Regions from separate parts of the Homo sapiens genome. Here regions 1, 3, 4, 5, 6 and 7 are each linked to region 2. Evidence: promoter capture Hi-C in 16 types of primary human blood cells and fetal thymus (Javierre and others, 2016). All regions are on one chromosome and are shown on one strand. Each heading gives the region's core, a stretch centred on a gene start or on the middle of the fragment in contact. The rest is flanking DNA. Distances are from core to core; before and after follow the strand shown.

Evidence for each region. Contacts are between HindIII fragments. The CHiCAGO score rates a contact against its expected background, and 5 or more counts as called.
Region 1: a contact is called between a fragment that was not itself captured here and the fragment with the promoter of GLB1L2 in region 2, in 1 of 17 cell types (total CD8 T cells). The highest score is 5.6, in total CD8 T cells.
Region 3: a fragment that was not itself captured here is called in contact with the fragment with the promoter of GLB1L2 in region 2 in 4 of 17 cell types (total CD4 T cells, non-activated CD4 T cells, activated CD4 T cells and 1 more); the score reaches 7.2 in total CD4 T cells.
Region 4: a contact is called between a fragment that was not itself captured here and the fragment with the promoter of GLB1L2 in region 2, in 4 of 17 cell types (activated CD4 T cells, total CD4 T cells, naive CD8 T cells and 1 more). The highest score is 7.5, in activated CD4 T cells.
Region 5: a contact is called between a fragment that was not itself captured here and the fragment with the promoter of GLB1L2 in region 2, in 2 of 17 cell types (total CD4 T cells and activated CD4 T cells). The highest score is 7.3, in total CD4 T cells.
Region 6: a fragment that was not itself captured here is called in contact with the fragment with the promoter of GLB1L2 in region 2 in 2 of 17 cell types (activated CD4 T cells and total CD8 T cells); the score reaches 8.3 in activated CD4 T cells.
Region 7: a fragment that was not itself captured here is called in contact with the fragment with the promoter of GLB1L2 in region 2 in 6 of 17 cell types (activated CD4 T cells, fetal thymus, naive CD8 T cells and 3 more); the score reaches 9.6 in activated CD4 T cells.

The regions. Positions count from the first base shown.
Region 1 is chr11:134,651,580-134,654,287 of GRCh38, forward strand. No RefSeq gene overlaps it. Among named protein-coding and RNA genes, the nearest start is that of LINC02706, 59 kb to the right of the region's middle. The HindIII fragment of the contact is 1,851 bases long and covers 445-2,295 here.
Region 2 is chr11:134,330,499-134,333,237 of GRCh38, forward strand. GLB1L2 (galactosidase beta 1 like 2) reads left to right here and starts at 1,490. Exons shown (of 19, transcript NM_001370461.1): 1 at 1,490-1,649. The coding sequence starts at 1,564. RefSeq lists a silencer at 1,340-1,639. The HindIII fragment of the contact is 5,891 bases long and covers 1-2,739 here.
Region 3 is chr11:133,976,926-133,980,016 of GRCh38, forward strand. No RefSeq gene overlaps it. Among named protein-coding and RNA genes, the nearest start is that of IGSF9B, 22 kb to the left of the region's middle. The HindIII fragment of the contact is 2,049 bases long and covers 515-2,563 here.
Region 4 is chr11:133,908,351-133,911,475 of GRCh38, forward strand. IGSF9B (immunoglobulin superfamily member 9B) reads right to left here. Exons shown (of 20, transcript NM_001277285.4): 20 at 1-927. The coding sequence ends at 719. Among named protein-coding and RNA genes, the nearest start is that of MIR4697, 11 kb to the left of the region's middle. The HindIII fragment of the contact is 4,099 bases long and covers 1-3,125 here.
Region 5 is chr11:133,928,608-133,931,376 of GRCh38, forward strand. It overlaps IGSF9B (immunoglobulin superfamily member 9B), which reads right to left. Exons shown (of 20, transcript NM_001277285.4): 11 at 2,377-2,527; 12 at 1,064-1,175. Among named protein-coding and RNA genes, the nearest start is that of IGSF9B, 27 kb to the right of the region's middle. RefSeq lists enhancers at 1,887-2,559, 2,127-2,421, 2,207-2,501. The HindIII fragment of the contact is 8,847 bases long and covers 1-2,769 here.
Region 6 is chr11:134,022,318-134,025,276 of GRCh38, forward strand. All of the region lies in intron 1 of LINC02730 (long intergenic non-protein coding RNA 2730), which reads left to right. Among named protein-coding and RNA genes, the nearest start is that of LINC02731, 8.5 kb to the right of the region's middle. RefSeq lists an enhancer at 1,819-2,621. The HindIII fragment of the contact is 2,577 bases long and covers 74-2,650 here.
Region 7 is chr11:134,039,709-134,042,861 of GRCh38, forward strand. It overlaps LINC02731 (long intergenic non-protein coding RNA 2731), which reads left to right. Exons shown (of 3, transcript NR_027276.1): 3 at 54-1,633. Among named protein-coding and RNA genes, the nearest start is that of LINC02731, 9.0 kb to the left of the region's middle. The HindIII fragment of the contact is 9,450 bases long and covers 1-3,153 here.

The DNA.
Region 1 (2,708 bases), core at 120-2,619, 320 kb after region 2:
ATGCCTTCAATTTTTAGAAATTTGACTCTGATGTTTCTTGGCATGGATATCTTTGAATTTATCCTATTTGGGATTAACTTGGCTTCTTAAAACTGCAGGTGTGTGACTTCTGACAAATTTGGGAAAATTGTAGCCATTTTTTAAAAAACAGTGTTTCAGCACCAACCGTTTTCTCATCTCTTTTCAGGACTCTAGTGACACAAATATTCGATATTTTGTCTAGTTCCGTAATATTTTGCATAATCTCTTTTCATTTTTATCAGTCTGTTTTTTCTTATTGTTCAGATTGAGTAATTTCTAATGTTAAATCTCAAATTTATGAATTCTTTCCTTTGTCCTTTCCATTTGGATGTTGAGTCAATAAATTGAATTCTTAAATTTATTTTATTGTATTTTTTGTTTTTTCAATTTTAATTTTTAAATTTACATTTTGTTTTGGTTCTAAGCTTTCCATTTAGTTTTTATTATCTTCTATTTCTCTGCTGAGATTTTCTATGTTTTTATTTGTTTCAAGCATGTTTATTATTACTCATTAAAGCATTTTAACCATGACCATTAAAATCTTTGTCAAATAATTCTAACATCTTTGTTATCTCAGTGTTAGTATATAATCAATTGTCTTTTTCATTCAAGTTGACATTTCCCTATTTCTTGGCATGACAAGTGATTTTCTTCCTTCTTTTTTTTTTTTTTTTTTTCCTGAGACAGGATCTTACTCTGTTGCCCAGGCTGGAATGAACATGGCTTACTGTAGCCTTGACCTCCTTTGTTCAAGTGATTCTTCGGCCTCAGCCTCCTGGGTAGCTGGGACTGTAGGTGTGCACCACCACCTGGTTAATTTTTTAAATTATTTTTTGTAGAGATGGGATCTCGCCGAATTGCCCAGGCTGGTCTTGAACTCCTGGACTCAAGTGATTCTTCTGCCTTGGCCTCCCAAAGTGGTGGGATTACAGGCATGAGCTGCCCTGCTTGACTGGACAGATTATTTTCAATTGGAACCTGGATACTTTGGATAGTGTGGTATGAGACTCTAAATCTTATTTAAGCCTTCTGTTTTCACTGGCTCATTGCTGTCATGTGGAGGCAGAAACCCAGGCTCCCCACTTGGTCTCTATTGACACCCGGGTTGGGGAGTGCTCCCTGTTATTGCTGTGTGGAAGTGGGAGTCCTGTCTCCCCACGTCTCCACTGATACCCTGGGGGTGAACTGGTTATTCTCTCTGGGTGCTGGTGAAAGTCCTGGCTTTCCACTAGGCCTCCTCTGATGCTGCTCAGTGTGGAGCAGAAGGAGGGCCTTGTCACCGACAGGCAGAAGTGGAAGTGCCGGCCTCTGATGTGTTCTCCGTCAACACGGCTGCCCAACAGTGATAATAGTGTCTGCTCCCTCCTCCATCTCCCTTCCCACAACCCTTGAGAGTGTGAACAAGTCTGGGTGCTTCATCACGGCACTGCAAGGGCAGAAATCAAGGTTTTCCACTCAACTTCTGCTGGTCTGGGTAAGGTGGAGCCATGGTTTTTCTAGGGTGTTTGGCTGGAGTAGGGTGGGTCTTGTCTAAAGAGGCTCAGTCCTCCTGTGCTGTCCGTGTCCCTGGTCACTTGGCTAGAGACAGCAGGGTTCTGCTGGGGACTTTTCCTTGGCTGATTGGTGTTGATGGCTTCTTTGCATCCAAATCTGGGATATATAAGATTTAAAAAATTAGCATACCTCAGAGAACTCACTGTGGTATTGCTTCTCAATGCTTAGAGTTCTCCCAAGCTCCCAATTGGTCTGCCTTGCTCTTTCTACCTTTCAGTGTCTTTTTATGTTTTCAAAAACATATTGTGCAGGAATTTCAGTTGTACTTAGTAGGAAACTGTTTTTAGTTGTATCTAAAGTTGTAGGAAAAGTACTTCTGCTCCATCTTCCCAGAAGTCAAAGTCATCGATACCACATAATCTCTTGCCACAGAATCTAAAATGCCTAAACTTGACAGTGGTTATCAGGAGTGGCTCTCAAAATTAAATTATTGGAATGAGATTTTACAGCTGGATAAGCACTCATCCAAAGGTACTAGAAACCACAGCGAGTTACTGTTAATAAGCAGGGTGGTGATAACACCTGGTGTATATCATATGTACCCCATAATTAGGTAGAATATTATGTATCAGTAAAAATAAAAAATTTTTAAAAAGAAATAAAAATATTAATTGAGTAAATAAATGAATAACTTGATGACCACACACTCACTCACACACACACACACACACACACACACCCCGTTTCTGAGGCTTTTGTACTGAGATAGTTAGAAGTTGAAGCTTTGGGATGTGAATAGTGATGGTGTTCAATTTATACGTGTGCAATGATGGATACAAAAATATGGTATTGGCTGATATTTATCATGGCCTTTGAAGCCTTGCAAAAAGAAAATAACAGCCACATGGAATCTGAGTGCCTGTCACAATGAAGCTATGCCTCCTCAGTATTTATCTCCTAAGCAGGAAGGGTGAGAGGTAATAACCTATCTGCCACATAAATGACAGGATCTGGCTACCATGCACCAGTAGGAAGTTGCTGTGGCAGCATCCCAAAAGATGTTTCGGAAGATCCCTGAAGCTTGGATTTGACAGTGGTGTACAGTGAATGAGGCGGTGTTAGGCCTTCCTTGGGATAGGGTTGAGGAAGGGCTCAGAAGGCTCATGAATTTAGACATGTTACCAAAGCTGTGC
Region 2 (2,739 bases), core at 240-2,739:
AGAAAAATGGAGATGCTTGTATTGCTTAAACCATTTGAGAATTCCCTTATATTTGATAGATTCTGCCACTGTTCAACGTGACCAGAAGTGAGAGGATGAATGTGGGGTGCATGTCTTTCGGATGGTCCCCTGCAGGCAAAGGGGCTAGCCTTTGACAATTTCTCCACACGCTTCGGGGCTAGCTGGTATATTCCAATTAAACCAACATGTTTCCATCACAGACTTCATAGCCATCAAGCAATCATAGCCTTACCCAATGGAGAAAAGGAGCGGGCTTGGAGCGCGTCCACGGGAGTGGGCCTCCCTCTGCGCGCCTCTGGGAATGTTTGCGGTGCTTAAGTCAGACCCGGATTGCTCCAAGCCCAGCTTATCCTCCCCAGTTCTGCCAGGGTTTTTTTCCTCTTGTTTGTTCGTTTGTTTTTGCCTCTCTTTGATTTAACTTTTGCTCCTTGACTAAATATGTGCTTAACGCTAGACAAAGGACACTTCATACCCAAGTCTGTGTCTTTGTTCCAAGATCTGCAATTTCATTTGGTTCCTGTCGGCTTTACAAGTTCAAAACTATGCCCCCGTTTAGGAAATGAATTCAAAGCATGCGGCAAGGGAGACATTCGACAAACCCGGATGCTCTGGAAAACGTTGCCCTTCCTCGAGTTTCTTTCAGTAAAATCTGAATTTTGTTCCCGGGAGGAGTTGGGTTTGTGATTGCTACAGTGTAAGTTGCACCGAAATACTACATCATGTTCTTTGGGACATACATTCTGTTTCAGAATAAGAATGATATTCTTCCTTTCCTAAAATGTGAGAGTTTTATATGGACCTTTTTAAAATAAAAAATTGGAAGCCCTTGGAGTCAAGGCCAGAGTAAGACTCGCAGAAACCAAAGACAGAAAATATTTGGAACCCCCCCTCCTCAGACATGAACCACACTGAAATGTGTCCAGATACAATTCTTCAAAATCCTGGCTTTTCACAGGATGATTTGTTATTGAAAAAGTTGTTTGCTTCAGAATCTGAATTGTTTTAAAAGATTCTGTTGGTTGCCCCTGCTTTGCGGACGCCTTTTGTACGTTCTTCCTGATGTAGCGCTGCGAGGGGCGACTTTACCTCGGCGTTTGACAGGTACGCAGCATTCCCGCACCCGCCTGCGCCTCGCGAGCAGAAAGACGGCGGACTCTGCACCGCTCCACGACACTGGGGACCCGCCCCGGCCAGACCCGTCCCCTACCGAGACCTTGTCCCCGCCCCGCCCCCGGCCGGGGCCCCGCCCCGCCAGCCCCGCCCCCGCCAGCCCCCTCTCCTACCGAGACCTCGTCCCCGCCCACCAGCCCCGCCCCGCCCCCCCCCCGACAGAGGCCCCGCCCCGGCCCCGGCCAGCCCCGCCCCCGCTTGCGCGAGGCCTAGGGCTGCAGGCGCGGAGCCGCGAGCCCCAGCCAATGAGCGCCGGCGGGCCGGTTGCCCAGGCGACCAGTGCGCGGCTCCGCCCCCCGCGGCGAGGCTCCCGCGCGCGGCTGAGTGCGGACTGGAGTGGGAACCCGGGTCCCCGCGCTTAGAGAACACGCGATGACCACGTGGAGCCTCCGGCGGAGGCCGGCCCGCACGCTGGGACTCCTGCTGCTGGTCGTCTTGGGCTTCCTGGTGCTCCGCAGGTGAGAGAGAGCTTCGCGCAGCACCTGCCGGACCCCACATTCCCCAGCCCTCCGCACCTCGGGTTCTCTCCTCCCGCGACCCGCGAATCCCGAGTTCCCGGGGGGAGCAGCCCCAGCTGCTTCTTTCTGGGAGCTCCCCAATACCCCCGAGTTCCCCTGCGGCTGCAGGCACTCTACTCCTGCCGCGCGATCCAGGCCTCTGGGCGACACCCGGCGTGCCCTCGGGAGCCGGCGTCTGTGCCCCGAGCCGCCCACCCCGCCGCGCCTGTGACGCCGGGCTCTGCCCCCCGTGGACGCCCGCAGCCCTCCAGCCGTCAGAGCCCTCTCAGACGCACCCCATCGCGGCCCCGTCCCCACTGCTCCGCGGAGAGCTCCCTCTGCCCTTCCCCCAGGCCCCCCTTTTCCTCCCAAGCCTCTGGGAGGCGCCTTATTCCGCAGAGGCCGGCGCTTCAGCCTGGCAGGTATGGTCTAGCCAGCTGGCCTGGCAGGGTCGTAAGAACAGTGTCCGTGGGCCTCCAAGATCCCGGGCCATGATTTATTTGCACAGTAGGACTGATAGGTCGTCTCTCTCCACTTTCCCACCATTCACCTGTTACCAGCTCACCCTTTCCTCTCCCCCTTTTCCAAATGTTGTTTATGGCAAAGGAGTGGCTTCAGTGATACTGTGATTTACCCACAGCCTGTGAAAAAGTTTTCTGGGTGCCCTAGCCCAGCATTTTTCTAAACTGTGCTTATTTTAAGGATTCTACAGCCCTGACCCTATCTTTCAGGTCAGCACTTTCCATATTCAAAACCTCCAGTGGGAAGCCGACCGGCAGTATCGAATGAACTGAACGGTTGGAAGTGGTGGCAGGCCCTACGCCGCTCGGCTTTGTCATTTGCTTCTTTTTTACTTAGAGAAACTAAGTTCTTAGTTTCTCTGCACTTCCCCTGGGAGACAGGGAAGTTTTTGATGGAGATAAATATCTGGAAGTCCTTTGTGGCCAGAAGAACACACTGACAAACTCTATGTTTACACCTTGTCAAGACTGGATTCTTGTTTCTGAGATAGTGGGGACGTCATGATATTGTTTGGGAGAAGGACGGATTT
Region 3 (3,091 bases), core at 289-2,788, 350 kb before region 2:
ACCTGAGTCCGGGCTGTGCCAGGTGCTCCCGTCCCCCTCCCTGGCCCTGTGGTTCTCCTGCAGAGATAGAGGTGGGGAGGACAAAGGCAGGTCAAAGCACACTCTTAAAGTTTGTGCTGAAAACTCTGCAATGGTCCTGGAGGGGAGCCTGGACACAAACATCTCCTCTGGCCAAGACCAGAGGCAGGTGTCCTTTGTTCTTTCTTGTCTCCAGGTCTAAACCCACTTGAGCAGAAAGGGGAGGGGAGCCACCTCAAAGCAGTATTGAAAGCACAAGCACTTCCTCCTTGTGCAAGTGTAGGGCCCCAGCCAGGCATGCATAGGTCAGGACGGCCCACCAGTAGGAAGAAGGACAGTCCTAGGCACAGAATCCCCAGGGAGAGGGATGAGACCTGCAAGGTGGCCCCAAACCACCTTGGCCCCAAACCACCCTTGCCCTCAGTCCATGGAAATCCAGTTTCTTTCCACTTGGGCGTGAGCTGAGGGAGGGAATAATGGGTCAGGAAAGCCCCGAAGCTTACCCCAGGAGCAGGCGTCCCAGGCCGGGTGTGGTCCCTCAGCTGAGCAGCGCTTCCCACATGAAGCAGTTAGGAAGCTGCCTGTGTTTCCAGGGCCCTCGGGGGGGCCCTGGCTCTCACCTGAGCTAACACAGAATGAGAGGCCAAACTGCGATGCCGTGGGAGGCTTCAGACGGTGTTTCTTGTGGGTGTTATTTCCAGCCTAATGCTGCATTCACATGGCTCTGCCTGTTGATTACTATATTATGATGTATTAATCACAGGCTAACGAGGCACTCCGCCCCACTCCTCTCTCCAGGCTGTACAGGATCCCACCTGGATCCCACAGCACCACTGGCTCTCCTGTATCTGCACCCCCAACCCACCCTCAGGGCCAGCCCTGGGTTCAGCCCCCTTGCCTACAGACAAACTCAGAGGCAGTCATTTCTTGTGTCCACATCCAAGCTAACAATGTTTAAAGCCAGGGTTTGGCACCCACAGATCTTTGTGATGCCCCTCTTCCTCACTCTCTGATAACAAAGGTCTAGGAGGCAAAACAAAGCCCAGAAGAGAGGAAAGTCGTTCTGATGTTTTTCTTGGGTCCAGGAGAATGAGACAGGCTATGGCTCTCTGGGACCTGCGAACTCTCCCAAGTGCTGAGTGAACTTGACTTGGTCCTGGGGAACCGGTTCATTCAATAGCATTTAAGTCTTTATGTGGCAAGTGCTGTTTTCAGCCAAGTGAACGGGAAGTTCCTAACTCCCGGGACTTCACTCCTGACAGAGGTGCGCTGTCAGGCCTTGGGCCGCTGCAGTGAAAAGTCTTGGTCCTTGACCGTCTGGCGAGGACAGTTCAAACCAGTGACTTCAGGGTATGATCTGAGTCCTCAGTGGCGCACTGGCTTTAGAAGAAAGAGAGAGAGGACCCAGAGAGAGAAGACTCACTCCCTGACCCCAGGAACAGAGTCTAGCAGGAAAGAAGTACAGATGAATGTAGTGTCTCGCATCAGGACCGAGGAATCAGGGGACGTGCCACTGAGCTGACAGAGCTTCGGGGACGATGACACTCCATGTATCTGTGTCTGTTTCAGGAGTCAAACCCCTTACCTGTGATTTATACTTTGCCCTTATAGTCCTGTTCATTTTTTTAGGAGTCCTTCAAAGGCATGAGGTCATTTGTATATGCTCACCCACAATATGAGCAGGCCATAGAATATGCCCAGACTTGGGTATAACGTCCTGGACTTAATAGTATTAGTGGGTACCATGATGAGAAAACAGAGGCTGGTATGGTGATGATACTGAGGAACAAGAGGGCTTCTTAGGCAGGAGAACTGGTCACCTGGAGATGATGTGGGCATATGCTAAGCCCAAGCCACAACAATTTATTTGCAAGATATGAGCACTACAAATAATTCATGCATCCTGTGGCTCCCAGTGCTCCAGGCCTCCTGATGTCCACATGCTTTTATACAGTCCCCTTCCCTAGGGCTGACTTACGTTACTCACCAATAGAATCACATGGAAGTGATGATGTATAACCTCCATGCTTTATCACAGAGGCATTGTGCCTTGGTCTTCTGGATGACTCACTTGGAGAGAAGTCATTGCTATGCCATGAGGACACATCAGCAGCCCTGGGGAGAGTCCTCACTGAGGACTCTTGCCAAGTGCCAGCATCAACTGCCAGCCACATGAGTGAACCTCCTTGGAAGCAGGTCCTTCCTCTCTTCTGGGCTTTAGTTTTGCCTCCTAGACCTTTGTCATCAGCGAGTGAGGAAGAGGGGCCTGCAGCCTGAGTCAAGCCTTCAGATGATGATAGCCCAGGCTGGACATCCAATTACAGTCCCATGAGAGACCCCAGGCCGGGACCACCCAGCCAAGCCACTCCTGAATTCCTGACCCATACACACTATGAGAGGTAAGAAATAGATATGGTTGCTTTAAACTGCTAAGTTTTGAGATAATACACATTGCAACAGAAATAACTAACACATATCCCTAGCAATAATGTAGTTCCTAGAATACAGCAGGTGCTCAGGAAATGTTTAATGGATGAATGAATGAAGCTTCTAGTAGAGGGGCTGTAAGTCAAACTTTATGACTACTGATGAGAAGAGGGAATGGGTAGCCATGGCCAGGAGAACTCATGTTCCAAACTTGGAAAGATAAAACTTAGCTCATAAACTCGAGAATACAAGAAATGTCATAATACTTTATTTTCTTCAAATCTGAATAAATTGACCCTAAGTCATTATTGTTACCCAAGACCCCTCTCTACCCCACCTCAACCTCATCCAAGGATCTGGGAAAAAATTCACTGTGGGAAAAGAGCCTCTACTCCCCAAGTCTATGATGGCCATTTATAATACCTTCAAACCTCACACACTATGATTCCTTAAAGCCAGGTTATGCTACAGCTATCAGGACTGTCTTGGGAGTCCCTGTGTCTACAATACAGTCTCTTAGACACCCAGGAAAGCCATTCTCTTCTGAGGTCTCACACCTCATTCAGACCTTCAACAAACATTTATTGGGTGCTCTACTAGTTAGGGTTCTCTAGATAAACAGAACAAGTACGAGAGGGTGGAGAGA
Region 4 (3,125 bases), core at 94-2,593, 420 kb before region 2:
AATCACAGCAAGGCCCCATTTCTGCTCTGGGTGGGAGAAGGTAGGAGACACACGGAGAATTCAGCTGAGAGACACGGATCTTGTTTTGGGAGAAAGAATCCCCCAAGACAGATGTCAGGCACCTGGCCAACGTGCAGCCAGCCCTGCTCGCAAACCCCAGCTGGCCACTGCCCTCCTCCTCCTGCCTCCACTGACCACAGAGAGCAACAGCACTTTGCCTCAATGTACATATATATATATATATATACACACATAGAGAAACCCACACACTACAGACATATGCATCTGTATCTATATCTATATATATGTGGGGTGTGGAAGATGGACATTAAGTCCAGCCTTCTTCCAGGACTTGAAAAACTGAAACAGAAGCAGAGAGCAGTAAAAGCCATTGCTTTCCTCTTCACTTCCAAAGACATTGGAAGAGATGAGAAAAATCAACCTAGTGAAGCAGGGGGCGGAGGGGAGGAGACAGGTGTTGCCCAGTCTCCAATCCACTTCCTGACCTCGACCCACAGGTGGAAGGTGTGCCCACCCTCCGTCCTGAAGACAGGCGGCCAGGATCTGGAGGGAGACACCCGCTCTGGCAAAAGAGGGGGCATGCAGGACAAAGGTCTGGGCCGCCCTTGGCAGACGGAGGAGGACACACCCCCACACAGTGGCCCTCCCTGCCTGAGCCCAGCAACCTCGCCCCGGGGACACCTAGAGTGGGGTGGAGTCACAGCAAAGTGGCATGTCCTGGGTCATCGTGGTCCACACTGTTGAGAATCGCTGTCTGGTCTTCCGGAAGCTGGCGGTGGCACAAGTCTGAGAGCCGGGCAAAGGGGTCAGGACGAGAATGTCTCTTCTTCTTTCGGAGGCAGACAGCTTCATCGGGCCACAGAACCTGAGAGTTGGGAAGCTGCTGAGTCTGGGAGGCAGAATCGTCTAGGAAGAAAGGAAGAGGGACGCAAAAGAGAAGCAAGCGGATGAAAAGGAAGCACGCAGCCTGCTCACCTTTTCCACCTGCATTTGTTCCGGGTTTCTAATGTTGAAACAAAGGAATCACCTGAGTCTAGAGAGACCAGACCGAATTGCTGCAGAGAAACCACCTTCTTTTCCGCCAAGACAACCAGCAACCTGACCCTGCTCCTTTCACTTGAATAAGAGTTAAGAAAGTGGAATGGAGAGGATTTTCCTTCTCATTCATTTCTTTCTCGATCAGTCTACAAATATTTCTTTTAGTGCCTCTTGAGTACTAGGCATCATTCTAGGGACTGGGGATCAGGAAGGAACAGGCTGGGACTCAGGACATCTTTCTCATCTGCCCCAAGCAATGACCGACTTTATACAAGATTTTAATCGCATGCAACGGTCAGGCCTTGACCCTTCCTGGACTGCCTGGGCCTCTCCTCTGCCTCATGGCCCTTCTGGAGATTAATCAGGAATGCCTTTGCTAGCTTCAAAGACTATGCATCCATGTGAGGGTGCAGAGGAAGAGACAAACTGTCAAGACTTTAAAAACACAGAAATAAAATTTGCAGTTACTGAAAATACTACAAAGATAAAATAGGGTCAACTGAGGCACTACTCCGCTCCTTAAAGGGTTAACACTTGAATTGCATCTTAAATTATGAGCCTTCCACAGATCTGAAGAAAAATTATTCCCAACAGAAGAAATGGCATGTGTGCAAGCCCCAAGTTAAGGGTAAATGTGGTGTGTCCCCGATACAGAAGGGAGGTCATCTCAGTTGGAAAAGAGTGAGGCAAGAAAGACAGGCAGGGCATCTAGGAGCTTGAAATCTGTTCTGGTTACGATGGGAATCTGGTTACGATGGGGAGGTTTTAATCAGAAGTGTGTGTGTGTTTGTGTATGTGCACACACGCCTGCACGTGTGTGTTCGTAACTGAAAGAGAGGATGCCGCTACGTGTCCTGCAGTTCGCCGTGGTGGCTGTGTGTGGAGTCCACGGTGCAAGGTACAAGGATAGGGCTGGAACACCAGCCACGAGGTACTGCAATAGTCAAGGTGGGACAGACAGTGACTCAGAACACAGAGTTAGCAATAGAGACAACAGAAAGTGGCCAGATTCAGGATATGTTGCAAAGGCTGAGCTAACAGGCATTACCTAGCGGGCTCGACGTAAGATGTGAAGGCAAGGGAAGAATCTGGGAATTAAGGGGCCTGACACCCCAGTGGGTACCAGTGCTAGTGATTAAACCGAGGAAGAGCTGAGGAGAAGCAGACCTGGAGAGGCTGATCAATAACTCTGCTTTAGACATCGTAAAGGCGTATGAAACACCCAAGTGCACGTTCAGCTGGCAACTGGAAATATCAGCCATGACCTCAGGGAAGGGACCTGGGCTAAAGACAGACATTTGGAAGATGCCACCACAGAACTGGTAACAGGACCACTGCCATCAGAACAAGAGACAATGCAGGTCTCTGATGTGACTTTTTTTTGCAATAAAGAAATATATGTTATACATATATAAAAACTATATATTGATGGGTCTTAAATGGGTTAACAATGGGCTTAATTGGCTGAAAATGCAGCTTTGAGCTCCAGTTTCTAACCCAAGCCCTAAAAACATCATTTTCTTTTTCTCTGCCTCAGTATTTCCATCTGTAAACTGAAAGTATACTAGTACCAGCCAAAGGCTAAGTGATCATAAGTGATCACCGTCTCCCAGAGATTCATGGGGCTTTGAATTTCTATATAACACTCTCCCATAATCCTGTCTATAAAGAGAGTTACTCTACAACAGTTATCAAAGCTCTGCAAAGCAACTGTTCAGCATTCTTCCTTGACAGACTGCCACAACACTCCTAAAACCATTCATGAAAAGAGGGTTTTTAACAAATATTAAAGAATTTTCTAGTCCTTAAGAGGGCTAAATTCGTTTTGCACTCAGAAGCTACCTATCCCTGCTAGATACACATCGGACATACTTCGATAGAGGCATCCTCTCTGTGGGGTAAGGAGGCTTCACTCCATCTCACTGAGAAGGGTGTAGCCAACCTGCAGAGGCTGGGCCCAGGCTGCAGTGTACCCTGAGGTCCACATGGGGTCCTGTCATGCCTTTGTTCACTAGAAGGCCTGAAATGATAGAGGGGAAGTAAGGAAGGAGATAGAGTTATGTGCA
Region 5 (2,769 bases), core at 231-2,730, 400 kb before region 2:
GAGGGGCTCGCCCTCCCAGCTCAAGGTTGTCACCCCCGGGGCAGGGCAGGTGGCTGCCACTCTTACTCAAACAGGAGTGTAGGGAGGGGCAGCCCTTGGGGGTGGGAGGAGTCAGCTAGGCTTCCTTCTCCTCCCTTCCTGTGCCTCCTGCCCTCACCCCGCTTGGCACATTTTTGAGATCTGTATCTACCCTAAGGTTTGCGCAAAGACCTCATATGACTGCATCTGGCTAAACTGACAACAGAGGAATGAAAACAATCGAGAAACACATGGTCCTAGAGAGAAAATGCAGGGGCTGACCCCAAGGCTGGGAAGTGAGCATCACCTCTCCACACCAGTTTCTGTGGCCTCTGGGGAAAAGACAGAATAAAAACTAGACTACAGGAGGTGGGGAGGGTGAACACGTACAAATCATAGTGAGAAAGAACCAGTAAGACCTGGTGTTTGCCAGCACAACAGGATTACAAGCAACAATAATGTATCATACATTCTTAAACCACTATGAGTATAATTGGATTGTTGGAACACAAAGGACAAATGTTTGAGGGGTGGATACCCCTTTACCCTGATGCGATTATTACACACTGCATGCCTATATCAAAATATCTCACGTACCCCATACCTACAAACGTATGTACCATGTACCCACAAAAATTACAAATACAAAAATACAAAAAAAATTAGTCTAAAAACTAGACTCTACACTTAAGGCTGGGCAATTTCACAAAGCCCTTGAAGGGCAGGAGTCTCTTCCAGGCTCCAGAGGAATCCAGAGGATGAAGCAGGACGCAAAACGAGGCAGCACGTGAGCAGGGAGAGGGCACAGAGAGGCCCAGACCCCTCAGGCCACAGGGACACAGCCATGCCCAGAGTCCCTTCAGACCCCTCCCGTCACCCACAAGGACCTCATCACTGTCTCAACCCACCTCAGTCTGTGCAGGGCTGGCAGGCCAGGAACTGCAGCCTCCTCCTACCTCCCCCCACCCGGGGTAGCCTGCAGGAAGACCGGGGAGGGGAGAAGCAGAGAGCAAAGCATGCCGGGGTGACTCACAGAGGTCCGTACCAAACTGAGAATGTCTGCTCGTAGCCTCCATCATAGCCTGGTTCCCAGGACACGTTGGCAGTTGTCATGGAGACCTGGACCCGGACACTGCCCGGGGCATGGGGGCTGGTGCCTGGAGATCAAGTGGAGACCTCTCAGACTGAAAAGAACTCAGCCACGTGGCTGGGTGCCCACCGTCTGGCTGTGGGGAACCTGAGAGGCTGAAGCGCATGGCAGCGGAGCACAATACTGCAAGTGAAGGGATGGGGGCGACGGGGATGCTCTCAGGCGCCGACTCCCCTGACCCTGCTTGTTAGTGGGGTTGGAGCAGGAAGCCTGTCCCACTGTGCGGTCTAGTCCAACTAGGAGATCACATAGCATCAGGAATGGGTCCAACAGAAACCAGAGCCCTCCTCGTCCTGGCCCAAATCCTGTGCTTCTCTGGTGAGCACAGAAACACTCTCTCCTAAGGCGGCAGGCACAGCCACAGAGCCCCTCCCGTAAGGTTCTCTGGCCTCAGAAGACAACTCCGTCCCACCCCAATGCTGGCATGTGGGCAGCACAGCACAGCAGTTAGGAGCCCCATCCTGGCTTCGATTCCCGGACCCACTACTTCTTAGCGATGTGACGCCGGAGAAAGCATTCGGGCCACGGCAACCTCTGCTTCGAGGAACCTACACTAGAGAAACCCCAGCTCGCACCTCCCGAGTTGTGAAGGACGAGCTGTGCAGACCACTTGGAACAGAACCTAAAACTGGTGGTAAAGGCTCCAAAAGCATTGGCTGTGACTGTGATTATAGCCGTCAGGACCCAGAAGGACAGGCTGAGAGGGCCCAGGCGAAGGTCCTGGGACACGCGCTTCGGGCAATCGGAAACGGGAACGCCCAGACACAGAACCCCAGAAACTTCCTCCTGCCCAGCCTCCGCACGCCAGGCCTGGCCTGCAGGTCTCAGCTCTGCCCTCATCTGAGATGCTGCACAGTCCCCGTCTCCCTCATTCCAGCCCTCCAGCTCTCCCTAAGGCCCTTAAACTCAAGGCTCTGCAGTCCCTGCCAGCCACACAGCCGCCTCTTTCCCTCAGGTGGGCTGCTGTGGACATCAGGCCTGTCCCCAGAAAGACCTCCCTGAGGACAGGAGCCACGCTGCCCTTCCCCGACAGAGCCCACGGGGGCAAAGGCTGCCGGTGCTGGACGCGGAGTTCAGGGCTGCACTGACTTAGGAAGGGAGCCCGCAGAGTGCAGCGGCCACCAGGGGACGCTCCCAGCGTCCAGCACCCCGCCCCCAGCCAGCCTGCTCTGTCCCCGCCGCCCGGCCCAGCCTTGCCGGCCACGTACCGATGACGGTGAGGTGGGTGCTGGCAGTGATGCTCGTGACCACGTTGGTGGCGACACATTCCCACTCCCCGTGGTCCTCCTTACTCAGGGCACGGAACTGCAGGCTCCCACTGGGCAGGGCACTGTGCTTGCTTCTGCTGGGCTTCCCTACCTTGGTGAACAAGGGGCAGGGAAGAGGGTGGGAACAGAAATGGGGGTTAGGAGAGAAGCCCGAAGCAGATGGGGAGGACGCGCCTGAGACCCCGGCCCGCCCACGCTGCCCTCCTCCCGAGTGCCTGCCGCTCTTCAGGGTCAGCTCACTGCTCGGCATCTAGCCTGGTCAGGGCAGGTCCAGAATAGAACTGCTCGCTGGGCCCTCACACCTCCCCTCAGCCCCGGGGCTCGCTGGGCCCT
Region 6 (2,959 bases), core at 112-2,611, 310 kb before region 2:
CTATATGCTGATTTTTGTTGTCCACACATCAAATGGCAAGAGGCTGCAGCCCACAAATGCTAACTGTGCAGGAAGCTTCACAGGACAGAGTTTGTTTATTGTTCTGCAGCTGGTAGAGGCTGAAGGACATTGGAAGAACTGGGCTTCTTGGGGCTGAGATGGGTGCTTATAGGCCTTCAGCCCCTCCCACCAGGGAGGAACATACCTCTAGGGAGATGTGAAAATTGCAGTTTTATTTCTAATGATCTCCAGGGTAAAGGTCTTGGTTACCTGGCTCCCCACTCTGAGAGTTAAACCATCCTGATTGTCAGAGTTCCTGCTGCTAATGGAATGTTCCAGATGTATCTGCAGGGGAGAATTTTGACAGGCCTGAATCCCAGACCTGCTGCAGGATGCTCCTGAGAAAAATAACCTTTGCATTTCCCAATTTCACCACAAACACTGGAGAACGGGTAGGAAGTGCTGCATAAATTGTTTGCACCTGGTGAATAGGCCAGCTTGCGGCAAGAGTCCCTGGAAGGGTCATGTGGTTAGGCACGGTACCAGGCAGGAGAAAACAAACAAGAACACGAGAATGGAGAGGGAGCATCTCTGGGTGAGGTTGGCAGAATCCCAATCTCTGTGTGGGCCACCCCAGCTGTGGGTCCTCACAGGAGCTGGGGAACCTGGGAGCTGTGCTCTGTCTGGGAGCGCGCTGCGGCTCTGGCTCAGCGTCCTTGAGGATAAAGAAGGAACATGCCTAACTTTGCCCATTTGCATTTCATATCCATCATCTCGATTTTGCATTCTGGCAACTGTGCAAAATCTAATCCTCACTCTTCTTACTGGTCAAGTGTTCTTACTTCTCCTTTGAGGTACACAAAAGTTGAAAAAGAATTAGAACTTCTTTTAAGGCACATGCATGGTGTTGGGTTGGATGAACCCATCCAAGATCTAGCCCCAACCCCATGACACAGTCCACCCCCCCCTCCCTCAGATTGACCACACAAAAGCAGCTGGACCGGAGCATCTTTACTATTCCAGACTCAGCTCCCCTAAAAGTCCACTGCGTCCTGACTTCTGCTAAGATCCTGCACTCAAAACAAAGTACTGCCACCAAGGTCTCCTCAAAAGCCATTGGGCGTTTTCAAGGTATGTGTACCTGGGCACCTTCCCCCAAGGTGTAAGGTCAGTTACCAATAGGAAAACAGCCTCTTTAATTAAATATTTACTGTGTATATTGTGTACAATTTTAGACTACCTGTATGTGTGTGTGTGTGTGTGTGTGTGTGTGTGTGTGTGTGTGTGTGTGTGTATAGGTAAAATAATATTTGGTGATTTGCATCTTCATTTCACCCATCTTACTGTCCCTGGTGACAGCTGTGCGTGACTCACGCTGGCTCTTCTGACCCAGGTCTTCTTGCTTATCTTTGGAATATAGAAGAGAGGTGAAAAATGTGAATGCAGCCTCTTTTAAAACACATGCTCAGTGTGGCCTCTCCCAGGATGAGGCGTTGGTTGCTCCCATCCCAGGTCTAGTCCCGGCTCTGCTAACATTTCACAAACACTATCTCTTTGAGTCCCCATGAAGTAGGTAGTTTTGTCCTCATTGTACAGACTTGGAGAGGTTGAGCCGCTTGCCAGAGCTGGGGAGTGCCTACTTGGGGCTGAAATCTAGGTCCCCTTAACTAGAAAGCCTTAGCTTAGTATCTTGCAGTGGAGGAGCTCCTGACCCCCACTTCTGATGGGGTGCATCGGAAGTGCTTTGAGTGGGGCTGGGCGCAGTTACTCACACCTGTAATCTCAGCACTTTGGGACGCCGAGGCAGGGGGGTCCCTGAGGTCAGGGGTTCGAGACCAGCCTGGCCAACATGGCAAAATCCCGTCTCTACTAAAAATACAAAAATTAGCTGGGCGTGGTGGTGCACGCCTCTAGTCCTAGCTACTCAGGAGGCTAAGGCATGAGAATTGCTTGAACCTGGGAGGCAGAAGTTGCAGTGAACCGAGATTGCACCACTGCACTCCAGCCTGGGCTACAGAGCGAGTCTTCGTCTCAAAAAAATAAATAAATAAAATAAGTGCTTCGCGTGTCCAGGGCCCCGACTCCGAGGGAAGACCCTCAACCTCTTCACATTACCACTGGACCATTAAAGGGTTAAAACATCTTTGATCTGGAGCCTCAGCTGCTCATCCTTCTGTTTTAAGGGCCTCTGAATCATTAGCCTTTCCAAGCAGCCTCCCTCTGCCGCCTGAGGCAGGTGAAGTGGGAGAGGGGAGCGGCCCGCCTGGGTCCTGAGTCAGCGCTGACTCCCCACGCTGTCCTCCACAGATTAATCACCTCCAATTACAGCTTCTGACTGGGCACGAGTCATTCCCAGCGGCGCCTCCTCGGGCCGACCCTCGCCCCCCTGCAAACAGGCTGCCTATCCGTCCAACATGCTTGCTGTACTTCCCAGAGCCCCAAAAAGGTACCCCGGCAGCAAATGACTCAAGGATGAGGACCCACCCTCTTCCCCCTCACCATCTGCTCTCAGCAACATGAGTCTTCTGGGGGCAAAAAGAAAAGAGGACATGAAACTCCTCCCTTCCAGCAGCCTACAGAGGCCTGTGCACCCTTCCATTAGCAGGTTGGATAATTCTTCGTGGTGTTTCTCCTCAGCAGTGACTAATAAAGCTTGTTCTCATTTCCACTAATCACACATCCTCATAGAGAAGGGTGACACACACTTGGCGTGGCTCTGTGACACCCCTTGGAAAGTGTTCCATGGCCCACCCAGCCTCTTTTCCTCGAGCCCCGCTCTGGCCTCCCTCACACCTGCCTCCCTTCTGCCCCTGCCAATGAAGCCGGGGCCCAGCTGCCTCGGTGGAATTCCTAAGCATCCTGCTCTTGGCTGCTGACCCGGGCACATGGGCACCCAAGGGCATTATGCCATCTCCCTCCTCAGCGGGTATCACACTGGGCTCCCTGCCCTGAGCTGCCA
Region 7 (3,153 bases), core at 179-2,678, 290 kb before region 2:
TCTGTAGATGTCAAAGGACCCCATGACGTAGGTATTATTATTCCCTTTGACAGTTGAAGAGATGAAGGCGCAGAGGCATGAACTCCCGTAGCCAGAGAGTGTGAGCTGGACTCTACCTGGAGCAGCCTCGGTGCAGAGCCCATGCCCCCAACCATGTCCGTGGTCGAGGCCCAGCCCAGACAGGGCACAAAGGGGCTGAGGAAGAGGAAGTAAGATGCCAGGGTTGCCATGCAGGAGGGCAACCCCAAGTGAGATGGGCATCGTGGCCTAGGGCCCACCTTCCGGAAGAGCTCATCAGAACTTCGGACACACTGCATGGGCCTAGACCCAGGGCTCGTTGAGCTCCTCCCTCGGATTGGCTTCGAATTTTAGGTGAATCCTCTCTAGCAGCCACATTCACCCTTGCAAGCCTGCACTTTGTCATCTTCTGAAAAGGTGCAGGAACATGATGCCCAGCTGACTCCCAGGGAGCGGGAGCCCCAGAGGCCAGCGGAGCACAGCCGCAGCAGGCAGATCTGTTGGGAAACCACGGGAGTATAGGAGCAGGGCTGGGGGCACCTGAGGGACTGTGGAGCCTGAATTATTGAAACGCTTAGAGTAAAGCAGATTTAGATTTCACAAAGACAGAGGTGAAGGTGGGTGAAGACGGAGGGAAGGATTTAAAGGGAAAGAGAAAGAGGAAAGATAAGAATGAGGGAGAAAGAGGAAGAGAGAAAGAAAAAGAGAAATAGAGTTATCGAAGATGACTGCAAGTCTGGCCTCTCTCAACCCAAGGAGCCAAGGAGGGGAAGGCCGGCCTGAGCAGCAACGTAGACAAGAGCTCAGGAGGGCAGGGACAGAGCCCTGGCTTCAGCAAGAGCGTGGGGAACAGAGGGCAAGGGGGTCCATGCAGCCCAGGATGGCAGGGTGCTCATACACACAGCCTTGGTCCTGTCCCCTCTCCCATTGCCGCTTTTGAGCTCACCTTGTTTAAGGCCAAAGCACACACCATCCTCCCACAGAGCCACTAATGCAATTAACAAAACACATTCATAAATCTTGCATGGCGTCCGGAGCTGTCTCCTCTCCCTAAGCACAAAGGCCAGCTCCAGAGATGCTGTGCAGAGAGCTGTCTGACCTCTCCAGCGTCAGGGCCCCCTGAAAAGTGCAGCATAACCCTTAGTAGGACAGAAAGACCATTGTCTTCTGCCAACCATTACAAAGTGGAGTGGGGCTGGGGTTAGGAAACACAGACAAATCAGAAGAGGCTGAGAAGGCGGAGATGAAAGTGCATAGGTGTTTGCAGGGAGCTGGGGAATAGTTCGTGCCTTCCAAGCTCAACAAGAGAGCATTCAGCAGAGACCAGAGAATCACCACTTTTGGAGGGTGATTTTACCTTGTGAGAACAGAGCACAGGGTGTGTGGGACCCAGGGCATCTTCGGCAATGCGGGCGTGACTTGGCGGGATGTCGGTGTTTGTGTTTGCATGTGTGTGTGCGTGCGTGCATGCTCAGTCTGGAAAACTGGTGACTCACTAAAACACCGAGCTTTCTGATCTGAAGAGCTTATATTCGGCTATTTTTAGCTCGTCTTGTCTCTTGGCCCTTTTTTTCCCCTTGTCTGTTTTCAAATGTAGAGGAGTCTGGAGACCATGAATGCCGTGTGTGTGTGTCTGCTAATTTAGAGCTTGGGCCCAGAGGTGGGTACCCCTGAAGGTGCAGAGATGAAGGCACGTGGGGTGTATGTGTGTACAGCAGGGACACACTGACACAGACAGGGTGCACATGCTCTTATTCTGGCATGTACACACGCGTACCATGCATACGTGCAAGCAGGAGTGAGGCCAGAAACGTCCCTGGAAACTCCGGCCTACACTCTCTTCACGTGGGTTGGTGTACAGCTACCCACTATGCATACTTCACAAGTATAACTGCCTCCCCACCCCAGCCCCTGCCTCACACGACCCAGGTGGGCACACTCTCATGAGGCACATGGCCACAGGCACAGTCTGGGCCTATCTTGGGGAATGGCCCCAGCCCCTGTGCCTTGTTTCTTCTCTGTTCAGCCACTCTTCCAAAAATTATGACTTCTTCTCAAGAAGGCCTTTCTCTGCTGGTTGGCAATAGGAAACACGAAGTGCCAGCTTCTGCACTTGGCTTCTCCTGGGACTCATTCAGCTGATCCCACCTGCCCACCACCATTGGCCGAGACCGCCTCCCCAGTCCAGTGGTCATCCAGCTACAGGGGGTCTGGCAACTGCTTAGAGAGGCCAGGCAGGGGTCAATGCTGTGTGAGCTCCGTTCCTCTAGCCGGGAGAGAGGGAGAAAGGAGAGCGAGCTCGGATTGCCATCTGCCTAGGTGCAGTGTGGGGCAGGCGGGGAGCGGAGCTCGGACTGCCGTCTGCCTAGGTGCAACGTGGGGCAGGCAGGGAGCGGACAGCACTCTTCAAGGCTCTAGAACGCTGGTGGGTTCCTGGACCTTGACTCTGTGTGACAGGACTGTGTATGCAACCCAGTGTCAAGAGCAGAAATGCGCAAATGCTGCCTATGACCAGTGCCTCAGTGATGCGGCACGCCTGGGAAAGGGCACCCACAGCCTCTCTTTCCACACAGCACACATGCTGTGCACTCACGCACAGCAGCACGTGCCTGCATGCACACACTCTTAGAAGCCTGCGTGAGAGAGAACACGAGCCTTCGTTACTCCAGACACCAAAGCAAGCTCTGAGCTGCATCATCCCTCAAGTCTGCAGTTTAGGCATGGCTCAGAGGCCCCAGCCAAGGCGGCCAAAACCCAGCCATGTGTTGCTCCTTAAGCCATGTCTTCTGCTGAGAGTCTGCGTCAGCCCAGAGGAGGGGCCCTCGGTCTCCCTTGCCTGCCGGGAGGCCCTGTGGTTCCTGGTGTCCAGTGGGCTCAGCGTCACGTCCTGGAAGGAGCCACTACCCGCCTACTGCCCCACTGCATTCCACTCCACACACATTTGGGGATCCAGCGCTCTGTGCAAGGCACTCCATGTCATCATGATGAAGGAGGACCAGCCGGAGTCCCCACCCCCAGACCCCTGCCCCAAGATAGGCTGGCACAGAATAAGATGCCTGCACAATTAGCCATTGCAGGACTCGTCACCCAGGGTGTGTGTGGTCATGAGCCACGCAGAAGGGATAATTCTCTCTT